Linked DNA regions of Homo sapiens: region 1 is linked to region 2. The links are contacts of gene promoters, found by promoter capture Hi-C in human tissues and cell types (Jung and others, 2019). All regions are on one chromosome and are shown on one strand. Each heading gives the region's core, a stretch centred on a gene start or on the middle of the fragment in contact. The rest is flanking DNA. Distances are from core to core; before and after follow the strand shown.

Evidence for each region. Contacts are between HindIII fragments. The study calls those that stand out against the background at their distance.
Region 1: a contact is called between a fragment that was not itself captured here and the fragment with the promoter of TMEM200B in region 2, in 1 of the 25 tissues and cell types used here (mesendoderm cells).

Annotation. Positions count from the first base shown.
Region 1 is chr1:29,084,134-29,090,294 of GRCh38, forward strand. The region is part of intron 16 of EPB41 (erythrocyte membrane protein band 4.1); the gene reads left to right. Among named protein-coding and RNA genes, the nearest start is that of TMEM200B, 37 kb to the right of the region's middle. The HindIII fragment of the contact is 7,588 bases long and covers 1-6,161 here.
Region 2 is chr1:29,119,547-29,125,783 of GRCh38, forward strand. TMEM200B (transmembrane protein 200B) reads right to left here and starts at 4,357. Exons shown (of 2, transcript NM_001003682.4): 1 at 4,310-4,357; 2 at 1-2,302. The coding sequence starts at 2,282. The coding sequence ends at 1,359. It overlaps EPB41 (erythrocyte membrane protein band 4.1), which reads left to right. Exons shown (of 21, transcript NM_001376013.1): 21 at 1-495. RefSeq lists a silencer at 1,712-2,091 and enhancers at 3,771-4,630, 4,631-5,490, 5,491-6,237. The HindIII fragment of the contact is 25,455 bases long and covers 1-6,237 here.

The DNA.
Region 1 (6,161 bases), core at 2,435-4,934, 36 kb before region 2:
TGTGGGTGTATGTGTGTCTGTGCACCCTCATCCCCTATTCCCACTGCCATCTCTGTTCACTTCCTTTTACTTATCAAAACTTCTTTTTCTCAATCTATGTCAATCTTATTAAAAAGTTTAATGAATCACTTTTCCCAGACGTATAGAAACACTAATAAAAGTTTTATGTGTTAAATTTTCCTCACATATTTGCATTTCAGCAAGCCACAAAGTCATTGCACAGATGATGGTGACTGATTACAGCATTGGTTATATCATTAAGCAGTACTTACAAGGCCAGCCTTAAATCTCATTTTACTTGACAGAATGCAAAATAAAATGAAGATAATGTGGAAAACAATGGTATAGCTTAACGGATGTAGTGGATTGGGGATTACAATTGTGTAAAGTGACTGCAGAGGTATATGCTAAATCTCAGACTCTCATTTTGAGGAAAATTTAGTAATTTCAAGGAGCAAATGTGTGGGTAATAGCAATATAGAAAGATAAGCTTTGAGGCTAGAAACAGTAATAAATCTCTGACATTTTAAAATAGTTGTAAATTGTGTGACTAATCAGAAATATTCTATTTTCTTTCTTAACAGACAGTATGTATCCCAAAACTATCCATTATAAATGGTATTCTTCCTGAGGATCTTGGTTCGGGAATATTTATGAAATAGCCTCATAGTATACCCATTTTAATTCTCCTGTCACAATTTCTTTCTTCAAAGTTGTGATGTTCTCTAAAATATAATGAGGACCTGTTTGAGAACTTGCTAACAAAAGCTGAAAGGAAGCCCAATTTTAGTTAAATCCATAGGCTTGGCCCACTTCAGGAGTTCAAGAAACACCATGTAGGGACTTCCTGTCTTTATTGCTTTGGTTCACGTTACTTTGCAAAAAGTAATATTTTAAGAAATATAAATCATTCTGGATATGAATTGTGATGTGATAGAATCAATCTATAGTGTATATCACTAACCTAAAGTTATTGTTTAGATCAGTTTTGGAAATACTTTGATCTTCTTTTTTTTTTTTTTTTTTTTGAGTTGGAGTCTCACTCAGTTGCCAGGCTGGAGTGCAGTGGCATGACCTTGGCTCACTGCAACCTCTGCCTCCTGGGTTCAAGTGATTCTCATGCCTCAGCCTCCTGAGTAACTGGGATTACAGGCACCCGCCACCATGCCCGGCTAATTTTTTTGTATTTTTAGTGGAGATGGGGTTTCACCATGTTGGCCAGGCTGGTTTCGAACTCCTGATCTCAAATGATCCGCCTGCCTCAGCCTCCCAAATTGCTAGGATTACAGGCGTGAGCCACCACACCTGGCCAAAAACCACATTTTAAATCACTTTCCTGATAATATCGCTTCTACCTCTAAATCAGAAAACATTAAAATACAATGAAGCTACAACTTAAATTTGAAGTATTTCTTTTCCACCAGTTATACAGATATATTAAATTCATCATCATTGACTTTGACTTTCTTTTCTTTTCTTTTTTACCCCAAGTTTACAACCTCCACCTGCCAGGCTCAAGTGATCCTCCCACCTCAGCCTCCTTAGTGGCTGGGAATATAGGCATACACCACCACACCTGGCTAATTTTTTGTATTTTTGGTAGAGATGGGGTCTTGCCATATTGCCCAGGCTGGTCTCGAACTTCTGGACTCAAGCAATCTGCCCGCCTCGTCCTCCCAAAGTGCTGGGATTAAAGGCGTGAACCACCTCACCCAGCTGACTTTGACTTTCAAAACCAACTAACTAAATTACCAAGGTTTAATATTATATTCCCCTTATAAAAGAGAACTTTTATATTACATACCAGTTACTAGCTTATAATTCTTTCCTCTAACTACTTTTTTCTTTTAGAAGCCTATTAAGGCTTATTTTTTACTGTTTTTAAAAGGCTTGGAAGATGTTAAGGATTTTTTAGCACTTTCTGCATAAATTGTTTACTAGACTCTTCAGGTTTTAAAGATCATTTCACTACTGAAACCAGATACAAGTGCTTGCATAAGAAAATAATCACTTTTTATTACCAAAGTAATACATACTTGTTTTAGAAAGGTTAGGAAATAGAGAAAAACCACAAACAAAAAGATCGTTTGCAATCCCTTGATTATTAATATTTTAGTACACCTTAAAATCTTTTGTCTTTCCTTTTTTTTTTTTTTTTTGAGACAGAGTCTTGCTGTGTCACCAGGCTAGAGTGCAGTGGTGCCATCTCGGCTCACTGCAACCTCCGTCTCCCAGGTTTAAGCGATTCTCCTGCCTCATCCTCCGGAGTAGCTAGGACTACAGGCACATGCCACCACACCCAGCTAATTTTTGTATTTTTAGTAGAGACGGGGTTTCACCATGTTGGCCAGGATGGTCTCGATCTCTTGACCTCATGATCCACCCGCCTCAGCCTCCCAAAGTGCTGGGATTACAGGCATGAGCCACCGCGCCCGGCCACCTTAAGATCCTTTTCATGTGTATATTTATACACATTGGAAAATATAATTTTTAAATGGCTAAGAAATGAAGCATAACTGATCAAGAGGAGGATTTAGTCTTTGAATTATATAGAAAGATAAAATGAGACAATAGCAGTGTGTTTTCTTCCTTTTAATAGAGAAAGGAGTTGTTTTTCTATTGCCACTAAAAGGTAAAATTGGTCTTCACTAAGTGGGGAACAAGTGACTAAATGTGTGGGGATAAAATTACTACACAGGTACTCATACATGGCTCTTATGTAGCAAAATTTTAGAAAAATTTTCAGGATATATTTTCACTTTGATCTCTTAAAGGATAAGACACTCTTGTAAGCTTAACTGTGGTTCTTTTTTTTTTTTTTTTTTTTTTGAGACAGAGTCTTGCTCTGTCGCCCAGGCTGGGGTGCAGTGGCACAATCTTGGCTCACTGCAAGCTCCGCCTCCTGGGTTCACGCCATTCTCCTGCCTCAGCCTGAGTAGCTGGAACTACAGGCGCCCGCCACCATGCCCGGCTAATTTTTTGGAGTTTTAGTAGAGACAGGGTTTTACCATGTTAGCCAGGATGGTCTCCATCTCCTGACCTTGTGATCCGCCCGCCTTGGCCTCCCAAAGTGCTGGGATTACAGGTGTGAGCCACCGTGCCCAGCCAACTGTGGTTCTTTTGATAGTCTCTTCAAATATGTAAATCCTTACTTCAAAAATAACCTGAAAAGAAATAGACTCTGGATTGCATTTGTTGGAGTGGCAGCAAAATACCTATAAAACACCCATATCCTGCTTTTTTTTTGAGATGGAGTTTTGCTCTTGTTGCCCAGGCTGGAGTGCAATGGCACAATCTCAGCTCACTGCAACCTCCACGTCCTTGGTTCAAGCAATTCTCCTGCCTCAGCCTCCCGAGTAGCAGGGATTACAGGCATGCGCCACCACACCTGGCTAATTTTGTATTTATATTAGAGACGGGGTTTCTCCATGTTGGTCAGGCTGGTCTCGAACTCCCAACCTCCGATGATCACCCGCCTTGGCCTCCCAAAGTGCTGGGATTGTAGGCGTGAGCCACTGCGCCCGGCCCATATCCTGCTTTTAATAATATCTGGAATTCATAGGTCAAAAAAGGGGTAATTTATAACTCATAAAGGCATATATATAATCAGGGTCTGATGATTCTGAGACATAATCCCTTTGCATAAATAGTTTTTGAGAGAAAGCCTTTAGGAAAAAAAATCTTGTTTTCTTCCCCAAAACAAAGAAAATACTGAATTATCATACTTAGCAGGAGCCATTGACTTTTTAAATGAAATTGAGAATCTTCAAATAATGTTTCTGTTCAGTTAAATATTTGTCTAATATTCTTTTTTTCATATTATTAAAACCAACTAGATATCATTGCAGTACTTTATATATATAGGCAGCCAATCTTTCTATCATAGCATCTTTTTTCCTTTTTCTTTTTTTCTTTTTTTCTTTTTTTTTTGAGATGGAGCCTCCCTCCTGTCGCACAAGCTGGAGTGCAGTGGCACGATTTCAGCTCACTGCAACCTCCACCTCCTGGGTTCAAGCGATTCTCCTTCCTCAGCCTCTTGAGTAGCTGGGATTACAGGCGTGCGCTACCACGCCTGGCTAATTTTTGTATTTTTAGTAGAGACGGGGTTTCGCCATGTTGGCTAGGCTGGTCCTAAGCTCCTGACCTCAGGTGACCCACCCGCCTCGGCCTCCCAAAGTGCTAGGATTACAGGTGTGAGCCCCTGCACCCGGCCAGCATCTTTTTTCTTACAGATTCCCCATCAGTTCAGGTAAGCGACATCTAGATTAACACCTTTGAATCACATTAAGTCTCAGCTTTGCCTTTTTGTCACTGAGGATGGTTCAGACACAGCCATATATTCATCTTCTACTTGAGAAGATCCCTTTAAAGTTTTCAGGCTAATTTGGTATGTGCAGTTGCAGTCTTATATAATCCAATGGCCCTTGATGATGGTCACAGCCAAAGGCAACAACACTGTCAGAATTCTTTACTGATATTAAATGCCAAATTCTGGGTGTCTTGTGTCATGGAGACTTTATATTTTCTTCTGGCCAGTCTTGTCTTCTGGCTTCTCAGCCTTCTTATATGTAAAAATCTAGTGTCAGCCACTCAGAACAGACTCTGTTAAGAGGAGTTTGGGCGCTGTTTGTATGTCTCAAAGTTAAAGTCGGGTTTGCTGTGTGTTATTTTGAGCATAATAGGACATGTCCTGAAGCTGGGCACACTGGCATGTGCCTGTAGTCCTAGCTAATCGGGAGCCTCAGATGGGAAGATCCCTTGGGCCCAGGGATTTGAATCCTGCCTGAGCATCATAGTGAGAGCCTATGTCTAAAAAATAAATATATACATAAGTAAAATAAATAGGACATGTGCTTTGGTCCTACTTGAAATACCTTCTGGTGTCATGGGAAGAAGATGGGCTTTAGAACCAGAGATAGATCTGAGTCTAAACACTAGCTGCTCATCTGTTCATCTATAAAATAGAAATAATGACTACTTCATAATTATACTGTAAATAATTAAATGAAAAAACATGCTCAAGTGATTAGCACAGCACCTGGCACATGGTAAACATACAAAAATATTAGTTTTCTCTTATTTTACTGATGGAGGAGATAAAATGCTGGACTAGACTATGAGTCTGGTCAAATGAGCCACTGTTTATTTCTTCCTAAACATGCTTTTCTAAACATTTTAGTTACAGAATAGCACAGGACAAAGAAGAAGTTCTCAAGTGACCTGGATTTACCTAACATACCTTCAACACGTTTTTACTGAGCATCTATTACATACCAAAAACTGTACAAGAAAGATAGAGAGCTAAGTAAGACAGTAACAAGTTCTCATCCCCCAAGGATTTCATAGGCTAATGGAAAAGACAGATGAATATGCCAGTGATGACAGGGTACAATGGGAACCAAAGAGGACTGGTATCTAAACATACTTCAGGCAGCCAAGGAAAATCTAGAAGAAATGACAGTTGAGCTAAGTGTGGACTTCCAGGCAGAAGGAATAAGATTTACAAAGGCACAGAGATAATAGAAAGATGCTCTGTCCTAGGGAATACAAATAGTTTTGGAGTAATGGGGAGAAGGATATATGTGGAGTTGTAGCTGGATGAAGCTGGAGAGAGAGGTAAGGGTCAGATTTTAAAGTATTTTCTGTCTTACTAAAACCCAGTGAAGGGTTTTAAACTAGAAAACTGAATTTTCAGTGTTTAATTTTAGAAATAAGCACTTTAGCAGCATAATAGAGGACACGTTCAAGGAAGGTTTGAGATGAGAAAGAAGGAAGGAAGAAAGGAAAGAAGAAAAACCGTTGAGGGCATTTGTGGTAATCTGGATGAGGCGTTCTAAGAGCTTTAACAGGCTGGGCACAGTGGTTCACACCTGTAATCTCAACACTTTGGGAGGCTATGGTGGGCAGATCACTTGAGGTAAGGAGTTCAAGACCAGCCTGGCCAACATGGTGAAACCCTGTCTCAACTAAAAATACAAAAATTAGCTGGGCATGGTGGCACGCATCTGTAACCCCAGCTACTTGGAGGTTGAGGCAAGAGAATCACTTGAACCCAGAAGGTGGAGGTTTCAGTGAATCAAGATTGCACCACTCTACTCCAGCCTGGGCGAAGAGCTTGAACAAAGGTAGTAAATGTGGGAATTGATGAGGGAAACATTAAA
Region 2 (6,237 bases), core at 3,107-5,606:
CCTAACTGCGGGACCCGTCAGGGCCCCGTGACCCATCCCCGTCCCCACCCCCCCCTCCACCGCTGGGCCCATCAGTGTGTGTTGGGGGGATGCTTGGCAGCTGGGGGTGAGGAGACAACAAACCTCGGGAACTGGAGCCAGAGCTGCGGCCTGACTGACGCCTTTTGATGCTCACGGGAAATTTCTGCCCAGGATCTCAGCCCCAGGCTGGTTGTTTCTACAAATCTCTCTCAAATGTATTATTTTGGTGACAAAAATGAAGGAGCTTTGTAAATTTTTTTTAAAATTATGAATCATATCAAGTAGTTGTTTACATTTCTTGAAAAAATAGGAACTCGGGCAGCAGAATCAGATTGGCAGAATCTTTAGACTACACAGGCAATAATCAAGTCTGCTGTTTTGGCCTTTCGTAGTAGAAGTGGTTGTAGTGTTTAGATATCTGTTTGGTCTTGCTTCTTGTATTGCATTTTTTTCAATAAACAACAACAAAAAGAACTCTCTCTGTGAGGATTGATCCACTTTTAAATTTCTCTTCTACCAGCAACTTGGGAAAAATTAAATATGGGTGGGGGAGACCTAAACTCAAGTCATTTTCTAAAGTAAGTTACCCACATTGACCAAAATGCAGCTTCAACGTTGAGTAAAGGGATTTCTGAGAGCTGGCCAATGCCTTTTGCCAGCTGCAGTGAGATTCTGCAGCATAGGCCACGATAAAGGAAGGAGAGAAGGGGCTTCTCAGACTTATTTGCAGAAGGGCCCAGAACTCAGTATGAAGGCATTGGCAGTAGTGTAGCTCTAGAGGGATATACCCCAGATGGCTGAGGGAAGAAAGGGATTGAGGTGGTAGGAGTTCAAGGCTCAGTCCCCGTCCCAGATGGCAGTGGAGAGTCTCATCCCGTGGTCCATCTTCCCAGAGGCCCCACACTCCATCACCAGTGCCGCCTTGGAGGGAGCCTGCCCCAGCCTGTAACATCCCAACCTACCTCCCAGTCTTAGGGGCCCTTGCCCACCACTTTCTTGGGTTTGCCAAGACACTGGGTACATCTCCCAGTCACCCTGGCCTGGACCTCCAGCCCTGTTAGGGCTAAGGCCACTTACAGAGGCTGAAGAAATTCCTGAGGCGAGTCCTCCACACCCCACAGTGAAACGCACCCTCTCCAGCTCACTGAGCCCTGGTGCAGCTGGCATTTCTCTGCCCGCATGCAGGTCAGGATGCCCTTCACAGCTGCTGTGGTCAGAGCATCCATCCCCAGCCTGGGATGTGACTGAAACATCTATTAGACGTTGGGACTCCTGGTCCTTTGGTCCTATTAGCATGGTCCATGCTGCAGCCTCAGAGCAGGCTGTCTCCCCTCTCTTCAGACCCGGGCCCCCAAGTCCCCTCCTCCTCCCAATTTGGCATAGCCCCCAAGACTGAGGCGGTCCAGCCGTGGCCAGCTTCGGTGAGCACAGTCCCGAGCTGCTGGGGCCCCAAGGAGGAGCTCCCCAAGGCCCAGATCCAGAGACTTGGAATGTTCAATGCAGGAGCCAGACGGCTGCACGGTGATGATCACATGGCCAGTCTGCGTCCGTGGACCCCAGGGTGGGGGCAGCCCGGGGCCCTTCAGCGGGTAGCTGTTGAGCAAGGCAGGTAACCCCAAGCGAGGATTAGCGGGCTCTGAACGCAGACTCCGCACTGACGGGACGGGTGAAGTACCCCGACGCGGGGACGGGTCCCAGATTTCTGGCTCTGCGCAGCCTACGGCTCGGGGACTCCTAGGGCCGGGGCTGGGAAGGAGGGCGCAGTCCCAGCCCGGGCCGTCGGGGGGCCGGAGCGCCTGGGCCCGCAGCACCCCCTGGCGGAGCCGTCGCGTCTCCAAGTCTCGGTTCTCATACAGCAGTGTGTTGGCGCAGATGAACACGAACAGGCCGACGCCCATGATCACCGGCCCGAGGAGCCGCAGCCGCTCGTGCGGGCCGTGAGCCCGGCCCCCGCCGCGACCCTCGCGTCGCAGCTCGCTCATCTGGGGCGAGCTGGCATTGGCGGCCCGGGACCCTGGGGCCCCGGCCCGGTGCGGCCAGTAGCCGGCCACTGCAATGCCCATACCCACCAGTACCACGAGCGCCCCCAGCGCCGCGAACGCCCCCGACGGCGAGCGCAGCCGCAGCCGCGCCCGCACCCGCAGAGGCTCGGGCGGGGAGCGCGGGCGCCGGCGGCGGCCCAGGCGGCGGCCCAAGCGAGAGACGCGGCCCTCGGGGCTCCTCCGCACCTCCCCGCATTCTTCGGGGCTCCCGGCCGTCATCTCGCCGTCGTCTGGGCGCTCTGCGGAGAGAAGATGGGAGGCAAGGACTGGACCGACGGGCCTCTAGCTTCAGGGCGCCAGGTTCGGGGCGCAAATCCGGGAGGGAAGCTCCGGCCGCCCAGCCCAGGCCGCTTGGAGATCCCTGGCGGCCACCCCCGGATTTTCCCGGGCGGCGAGGCGGGGAGCCGCCCGCGCTCGGGTTTTCCGCAGCGGAGCTCCGAGCCAGGCACGCGCGGCAGAAGCCGGAGTTGGCCCGGCCAGCGGGCGGAGAGGAGGGAGGGGGGCGCAGGCTGTTCCCTGGCGCATCCCGGGCTGCAAATCTGCCGCCTGCGTCCGGTCCGCAAGCCCGCGGGTCTTGGGCCTCGGGAAACGTGCGGCCCCCAGCTGCCGCGTCTCCAGGGTAAGTACCTCCCGGGCTCGACCCCACCCCCGCACGTGGCTGCACCGTAGCAAATGGGGCGGGGGCGCTCGGGCCTCCCAGGTCCGCAGGGGTCGCTCGCCGGGCCCCACCTCCCCCCTACTGTGCTTTACATACCGCAGCGCGGGAGGAGGGGGCGTCACCGGCTCCAGCCTCTCCCTGCCCGCCCCCTCCTTCCAGACCTCCTCCGCCCGCAGCGAAGCTGCAGCAGGAGCGACTTGAGCTAGACACCGGGAAGACCGCTCGGATCAAGACCAGCCAGGCAGAGGAGGAGAGGCGGCGCCGACTTCGCCCAAGATTTCCATCAAGTCCACGCATGAGAGGCCTCTCCCTCCCCCAGCGGTCGTGCTGGGGCCACGGCAGCAGGCGGGGGTGCCGGTGCCGGGCGCTGGGCCCCGCCGGACGGATGCCCTCCCGGCTCCCCCGTCGGCCCGGGCAAGGCTGTTCCCAGGTTGCGACGTTTCCAATTCGGGCTCCTCCGGATGAATCATCCCCCTTTCCCGCCGCCTGGCCTCCTTTCCCGCCTCCTCCGCCCGAGGCCTCCGTGGCCCGTGGCCCGGTCAGAGCAGCACCGCCCCTGCGCCTCGGGATCCGGGCCGCACAGCTTAAGCCCTCCCGATTGCTGGCCGCGCCCTGCCTGCGGCCTGTGGCCTGGATCCCGGGCCCAGCAGGAGTAGCCGAGCTGCGTGCGGTGTGGCCCCCACGAAAGGGAGGGCGAGGGAGAAGACGCGGCCCCCGCCCAGGCGCCCCAGGCCGCAGGAGAGGAGGCTCAGGGCCTAGCTGTCCAGGGTCGTCCTCACTGCTCGCGTCCGCTTCCTAAAGAACCACCGCGCTGGAGCCCGCAGCCGAAACCTCGGGGAGGCGGCCTTGCTCCCCGACCCACGCCCCATCTGCACCCCAAACCTCAAAGCAGGACACCCATCCCTGCCTCCGACTGGAGCGCTCAAGGCCCGGGCCTAGCAGGGAGCCGCCACTCTCCCGCGTCCAAAGCCTGGTTTCACAGATTGCAACTACGGCCCAGGGAGGCCGGGGAGACTGCCCGACCCCGCACTAGGCGGGGGCTCTGCCAGGTCCGACGCCGGGCTCCGGGGCCCCAGCCCTAGACCCCTCTCAGGACAGCCACGGGAGTATCCAGGAGGAAGCGAGGCCCATCCCCTCCTTGTCCCTGAGTTTGCAGCCCTTTCCCCAGCCCGCAACCGGAGGAGCGATCATCGCTTCAAGCCAGAACTGGCGCTCTCAGCCCCGGCTCCAGCAAGGTCACCCGGAGCCCCGCGCGTCGCTGCCGCGAGGGAAGCGAAAACAAGCAGAGTGGGGACATGGGGACACGCTCAGAGACCCCGAGCCGTGGAGGTAGTGGGCCGACGCTGGGGACACCAGGGAGGCGGAAACTTGGGGACACAGCGCACAGCCCGACAGAAGATGCTGGGGCCGAGTCCCCAGGACTCCAGGGTCCCGCCACCGCCCGCGTCCACACTCCCGCCTGGGGGAACGGGAGGGCCGCGCTCCCGCCCCCAGGGGCCCTGACCGAGGGAGGGAGGGAGGGAGGGAGGGACCAAACGAAAAGTTGGGAAAAGTGGAGTGCGGACCCCTGGACCCCAGCTCGGCTCACCTGGCGCCGCAGCGCCGCGCGGGTCCGGGTCCCAGTCCGCGCGCGGAGGCTCCAGAGCCGCCCGGGTCTCCACGGCCCGGCCCCAGCCCCGCCCCGGCCCCGCCTCCAGCCCCCGGGACCGTCCGACCCGCGCCGGGCCCGGCCCCACCGCCGCTGAAAGGCGGCAGCTCAGGTCAAAGGATCGCAGGTAGGCGCCCTGTGCGCGCCTGGTGACTCCGGGCACCCGTGGCCCGAGTTCTGCCATCCCCACTCTCCCACCCCCAGCTTACATCGGTCGCAAAGGCCCACAAAGGCGACCCCTTCCTACATGGGGAAACTGAGACCCGGGACCCAGGAGCCCCGACACCCGCACGTCCTTCCCCGCTTCCCAGAGCCCCTCATCCCAGGCGCCCGGGGAGCTTCCAGGAGGAGGCGGCCCGAGTCCCTGCTCTGCCCCGGTCCCGCAGCCCTTGCTGTCGCTGAACCTCGCGGACTTCATCTGTGCAATGGGCACCAAGGCTTCAGCCTCGCAAGATGCCGAGAGGCAAGAGCCAGACGCCAAGGGCCAGCCCGGGGCGACTCCGCAAAGCCCTCAGCGAAAGCAGCGCCCGGGGAGGGGCGGGCCTTGTAGCTGAAAGGACCGGACGGGGTGCGGATGTGCCGCCGGGTACTCCTAAGAACAGGCGCCCCTTCGCCAGTGGGGGAGCGGGCTTGTTCCCAATAACGGGGAGGGTGCTGAGAGCTGCGACCCCGCCGGCGAGCCCGAAGGGGGCGGCCCGGCCTTCGCGCCCTCCCGCCCCTGGAGGCAGGAATGCAGAGCGGGGGAGCCAGGGCGGCCGGCGGTCGGCCCAGTTTCCATGATGCGGGGGGCGGGTTCGGGGGAGGCGGCGACCGATTTCCAGGCTCAGCGGTCAGGCCGGGCCCCCCGGGAGGAATTTCCGGCCTAGGATTGATTAAGGCCCGCCCCTCCCCCCGGCCGTGGAGACCCCCGGCGCGCAGCCGGGGGGAGGGGCGCTAATGAGACCCGGCTGCGCGCCGCGGACAGGGAGGGGACCCGAGGAAGGGGCGGGCCAGGGGCCGGGGCCACCCCCCGACGCGGGGCGGAGCCGGGTCCCGGAGCCGCACGGCCAGGCCAGGCCTTGAACCTGAGCTCCCACCCTCTGGGTCGGCGGAGGAGAGTGGGGGTGCATCAGTGCCCCCCGGGACCCCCTCTTCCAGCTCTTAAAAGCCCCCTCGGGGGGTCGGTGAGGTAACGGGCGGACCAGAGGGACCACAGTGGGGAAGACCGAGCCTCGGCTCCCGGGCTTCATCCCTGCGAGGCCGTGTGCGAGATCGAAGCCAGGGCCTCCTTCTTGCCTCCCCAGTCCGACTGGAGGCTCCTGAGGTCTCGGTCCGCTCCACGGAGGCCTCCCTCCAGCATCTTTGCTTGGGACCCCCGCCCCCATCAATCCTCCGCTTCGTCCACTCCCCGCACACTGACCCCACCGCGGTCGCACCTCCGCCTCCCAGCTCTCCCTCCCACCCCTGGGCTCCCTCAATCCCACTCCATGCCTGCCTCTCCCAGCCCACTGCTCTTCCTCCAATAAGCCCGGCTTCTAGTCTGACTCCCTGGGCCCCTCGATCATCCCCTGCCTCCAGCTCTGTGAAGGGCCCTTTGTCCACCCAAGCACGGGGTCAGCCTTGGCCCCTTCCTCTCCCCCTCTCATCCCACTCACAGAGCCTTGGGGGCCCTGCTCTTTTCATCTGGGGCCAGCCACGTTCTCCCTTTCCCATGGCCACTGTCCTGCTCCGGCGTCCAGGCTCCTCCTGGAGCCCATGGTCTCCTGCCTCCCCGTGTCCTAGTGCGCTGCAGACAGGCAGCAAGGGTTTCCACTCTGAATCTGAGCCTGCCACTACCTGCTTAAAACCATCAGTGACTCCCCAAATCGAGTTGGAAATCTCTTCTTGTC